Regions from separate parts of the Homo sapiens genome. Here region 1 is linked to region 2. The links are contacts of gene promoters, found by promoter capture Hi-C in blood cells and fetal thymus (Javierre and others, 2016). All regions are on one chromosome and are shown on one strand. The core of a region is centred on a gene start or on the middle of the fragment in contact, and the rest is flanking DNA. Distances in the headings are between cores, read along the strand shown.

Evidence for each region. The method cuts DNA at HindIII sites, captures the fragments that hold promoters and counts their contacts. A CHiCAGO score of 5 or more calls a contact.
Region 1: a fragment that was not itself captured here is called in contact with the fragment with the promoter of ANKS4B in region 2 in 1 of 17 cell types (total B cells); the score reaches 5.0 in total B cells.

The regions. Positions count from the first base shown.
Region 1 is chr16:22,338,676-22,341,375 of GRCh38, forward strand. All of the region lies in intron 1 of LOC124903664 (a long non-coding RNA gene), which reads right to left. Among named protein-coding and RNA genes, the nearest start is that of CDR2, 35 kb to the right of the region's middle. The HindIII fragment of the contact is 4,639 bases long and covers 1-2,700 here.
Region 2 is chr16:21,232,406-21,235,105 of GRCh38, forward strand. ANKS4B (ankyrin repeat and sterile alpha motif domain containing 4B) reads left to right here and starts at 1,294. Exons shown (of 2, transcript NM_145865.3): 1 at 1,294-1,496. The coding sequence starts at 1,333. It overlaps LOC105371123 (a long non-coding RNA gene), which reads right to left and starts at 1,197. Exons shown (of 2, transcript XR_001752344.2): 1 at 1,087-1,197. The HindIII fragment of the contact is 3,732 bases long and covers 2-2,700 here.

The DNA of each region.
Region 1 (2,700 bases), core at 41-2,540, 1.1 Mb after region 2:
CCACATCAGAAAGAAAAGACTTCAGATAAACAACCCAATGTTACACCTCAAGGCACCAGGAAAATAAAAAGAACTAGGCCCAGTTAATAAAAGGAAATAGGCCAGGTGAGGTGGCTCACACCTGTAATCCCAGCACTTTGGGAGGCCAAGGTGGGCAGATCACCTGAGGTCAGGGGTTTGAGACTAGCCTGACCAACATGGAAAAACCCCATCTCTACTAAAAATGCAAAAAAATTAGCCATGTATGGTGACACGCTCCTATAGTCCCAGCTACTCGGGAGGCTGAGGCAGAAGAATCGCTTGAACCTGGGAGACGGAGGTTGCAGTGAGATGAGATTACGCTACTGCACTCCAGCCTGGGTAACAGAGCAAGACTCCATCTCAAAAATACATACATATATACATAAATGGAAATAATAAAGACCAGAGCAAGACTACGTCTCAAAAATAAATAAAAGAAAGGAAATAGTAAAGACCAGAGCTGAAAAAAATGAAAAGATCAACAAAATTCAGTTGGTTTCTTGAAAAGATAAAATTGACAAACTTCTAGCTAAGAAAAAATAGAGAAGACTCTCATAGAATTAGAAATGGAAAAAGATAATCCCAGCACTTTGGGAGGCCAAGGCAGGTGGATCACCTGAGGTCAGGAGTTTGAGATCAGCCTGGTCAATATGGTGAACCCCATCTCTACTAAAAAATACAAAAATTTGCTGGGCATGGTGGCAGGCACCTGTAATCCCAGCTACTTGGGAGGCTGAGGTAGGAGAATCACTTGAGCCTGGGAAGGGAATGTTGTAGTGAGCTGAGATCCCACCACTGCACTCCAGCTTGGGCGATAAGAGTGAGACCTTGTAAGAAAGAAAGAAAGAAAGGAAAGAAGGGAGAGGGAGAAGGGAAGACATTACAACTGATTCCATAGAAATACAAAGGATCAGGCCAGGCACGGTGGCTCATGCCTGTAATCCCAGCACTTTGGGAGGCCAAGGTGGGCGGATCACTTGAGGTCAGGAGTTTGAGACCACCCTGGTCAAAGTGGTGAAACCCTGTCTCTACTAAAAATACAAAAAATTAGCCAGGCATGCTAGCAGGTTCCTGTAATCCCAGCTACTTGGGAGGCTGAGGCAGGAGAATCACTTGAACCCGGGAGGCAGAAGTTGCAGTGAGCCAAGACCATGCCATTGCACTCTAGCCTAGGCAACATGAGCAAAACTCCATCTCGAAAAAAAAAAATTAGCTGGGTGTGGTGGTACATGCCTGTAATCTCAGCTACTTGGGAGGCTTAGGTGGGAGAATTGCTGGAACCCGTGAGATGGAAGTTGCAGTGAGCCAAGATCACGCCACTACACACTCCAACCTGGGAGACAGAGCAAGACTCTCTGTCTCAAAAAAAAAAAAAAAAAAAAAAAAAAGAGAAAAGAAAAGAAATACAAAGGATCCTAAGAGACTACCATAAAAAATTACCAGCAAACTGGATAACCTACAAGAAATGGATGAGTTCCTAGACACATACAGCCTACCAAGACTGAATCACAAAGACACCGAAAATCTGACCAATGAGTAAGAAGGTTGAATCAATAATTTTAAAAAGTCTGCCATCAAAGAAAAGCCCAGGACCTGGTGGCATCATTGCCGAATTCAACTAAACATTTATGGAAAACTACTACCTATCTTTCTGAAACTTCCAAAAATTTGATGAAGAGGAATACTTTCAAACTAATTTTACAAGGCCAGCACTACCCTGATATCAAATCCAGACAAGGACACTATAAGAAAAGAAAATTAGGCCGAGCACAGTGGCTCATGCCTGTAATCCCAACACTGCGAGGCCAAGATGGGCAGATCACCTGAGGTCAGGAGTTTGAGAACATCCTGGCCAAAATGGTGAAACCCCGTCTCTACTAAAAATTAACCGAGAGTGGTGGCGCATGCCTGTAATACCAGCTACTCAGGAAGCTGAGGCCGGAGAATCGCTAGAACCTGGGTGGCGGAGGTTGCAGTGAGCCAAGATCGCGCCACTGCACTCCAGCCTGGGCGACAGAGCGAGACTCCACCTAAAAATATAAAGAAAGAAAGAAAGAAAGAAAATAAAAGCAAATTAGACCAATATCCTTATATCCTTGATGAACACAGCTGCAAAAACCTCACCAGAACTAGCAAACCAAATTCAGCACATTAAAAGGCTCATTCACCAGGATCAAGTGGGATTTATCCCAGTCTGGGCAATATAGCAAAACCCCATCTCTGCAAAAAAAAAAAAAAAAAAAAATTTTTTTTTTTTAATTAGCCAGGTGTGGTGCTGTGTGCCTATTGTCCCAGCTGCTTGGAAAGCTGAGGCAGGAGGACTGCTTGAGCCCAGGAGTTTGAGACTGCAGTGAGCTATGACCACCACTGCACTCCAGCCTGAGTGACAGAGTGAGACCCTGTCTCCAAAACAAAGTTGGATTTATCCCTGGGATGCAAGGATGGTTCAATGGTTCAACATATGCAAATCAATAATTGTGATACACCACATTAACAGAATGAAGGACAAAAACCATATAATCTTCTCAATAGATGCAGAAAAAGCATCTGAAAATTAACAACCATTCATGATTAAAAAATCAACAAACTAAGTATAGAAGGAATGCCCACTCTTACCTCTTCCATTCAACAAAACACTGGAAGTCCTAACTATAGCAATTGCACAGGAAAAATAAAAGG
Region 2 (2,700 bases), core at 44-2,543:
AAGCTTTTCTTTAACTGCATCCTATAAATCTTGATATGTGGTATTTTCATTTTCATTCTGTTCCAAATATGTCTGATATAGGACTTGTATCCAGAGTATATAAATAATTCTTATAATTTATTAATAAGACAACCACTTAAAAATTGGGCAAAAAGATTTGAATAGAAGATGTAAGAATGGCTAATGGGCACATGAAAAGATGCTCAATATCTTAGTCATTAGGAAATTGAAAATTAAAGCCATAATAAGACCACTTCATATCCACTAGGATGACCATAAACAAAAAGATAGGCAATAATAAGGCTGGCAAGGTTGTGGAGAAATTGAAACCCTCATACGTTATTGGTGGAAATGTGAAGTAGTACAGCCACTTTGGAAAACAGTCTGGCAACTTCTGAAATTTAAATGTAAATTGCCATGCAACCCAGCAGTTTCACTCCTTGATATATACGCAAGACACATGAAAATATGTGTCCACACAGAGACTTGTACATCAGTGCTCATAGCAGCATTATTCATCATTACTGAAAAATGGAAACAACCCAAATATTCATCATATTCATGAAACATTGAATGGATGAAGAACATGTGGTATGTTAGCACAGTGGAATATTATTCAGCAGTGAAAAGAAAGAAACCATTACATGCTACACATGACAAACCTCAAAAAAGTATGTGAATTGAAACAAGCTATACACTAAAGACTATATATTGTAGGATTCCATTTGTCTGAAATGCCCGTAAAAAACAAATCTATAGAGACAGAAAGCAGACTGTGGTTTCCTGAGGTTGGGAGTGGAAATGGGATTGACAGCAAATGGCATGAGGGATCTTTAAGGGCTGATGGAAACTGGATTATGATAATGGGCATGCAACTCTATAAATGTCCTAAAAATCATTGAATTGTATGCATGAAATGGGTAAATTTAATGATGTTATACCTCAATAAAGCTGTTCTTTTTGGAAAAAACAGCTAGTGAACTAGAGTAGCTCTGCATTTTATTAAGAAATTATTTCTTACATCCTGTGCCTAGATGGCCAATATTACACTCAAGAAACTAATGGACATAGAAAAATTGAATGTACCTCCAAACACTCAAGATGAATACAGCAGTCTTCAATAGTCAACGTCATGGCCATTCCAGAGAGAAAAGGTCCAAGTTCAGTGCCTCGAACCTTGTTGCCTTCCGTGAAAGGAAGCAGTTGAAATGAGCTTTGCCCCTGGTGACACTCTTCCTTGTCACTAATTAACCAGCTCTATAGGAAGGTTGCTCCGCCAACACCTTGCTCTGCCTGGAGAGACATCTGGCCAAGTTCTGGTGAGCAGGAAAAATGTCTACTCGTTACCACCAAGCTGCTAGTGATAGTTACCTGGAACTTCTAAAAGAGGCTACCAAGCGAGATCTAAATCTTTCGGATGAAGACGGCATGACTCCTACTCTCTTGGCAGCCTACCATGGGAACTTGGAAGCCCTAGAGATAATCTGCAGTAGAGGGTAAGTTCAACCCGATGGTTTCTGTTGGAAACAGTGTTCATGGTAGGTTTTTGCAGACAGCAGCAAGAGGCAGGGACGTCAATACAAATACTTTATCCTCTTTCTAGATTGTCTAAATGATTGGATTTTTAGAGAAAGAGAGAAAACTATGCCTAGAGATGCTCTCTTTTCTCACTGAGGACTGGCACTATAGGAGTGGCTCATCCCTTAGCCACAATCAGAGGAGAGACCCTGAACTACGGCATTATCTGCATGGGGAAGAGGGAAGATATTTTAATTCTATGCCTTTAAAAATGCTTTTCATGAAATTTAAATAGTTTTCTCTTTTCAAAGAGGCCATTGTTTTACTTGGTTTTAAGTTGCCAACCTTGGTTGGAACAAATGACATGGTTTTAGTTTTTTTTTTATCTATGCCATCAAAATCTCACAGTCTTTTATTAACTTTCAATCCCAGTGCAAGCTCATGATTTTTTTATTTTTTATTTTTGACACAGGGTCTTGCTCTTTTGAATGGAGTTGCTGGCTCTACAAGGACTCTTTAGCCTATCTTAACTCTATCACTTCTTTGGCTAGTGGATAGATACACACACACACACACACACACACACACACACACACACCCCATCTCTTTGCCCAGATTTTAATGGAGGAGTAAGCTAGTTCCTCTGCTTGTTCTGCCTGTTATCAGAGGGCTAGGTTGTGTTGGCAACCGTAACCCAAGAGGGGTAAAGAAAGAGAAAAGGACAAGGTAAATAAAGGAGCCAAGTGAATCCAATTGAATACCCATTTATTCAGTATTTGTTATGTGCCAGCCACTTATCTCTTAAGATAAGAGATATTTTGCTAGCCACTGGGCACACTGTGATCAACAAGACAGCCACAGTCCCTGTCATAGTGAGCAGATTTGAGAGGGGAAGACAAGACATCTATGATATTTGTGTGTGTGTGTGTGTGCATGTTTGCTCTGAGACAGGGTCTCACTCTGTCACTCAGGCTGGAGTGCAGTGTCAAGATCATAGCTGACTGCAGCCTTGAGCCCCAGGCTCAAGTGGTCCTCCCATCTGAGCCTCCCGAGTAGCTGGGACAAGAGGTGTGCACCACCATGCCCAGCAATTTTTGTACTTTTTGTAGTGATGGGGTTTTGCCATGTTGCCCAGGATGGTCTTCAACTTATGAGCTCAAGCGATCTGACAGCCTCGGTCTC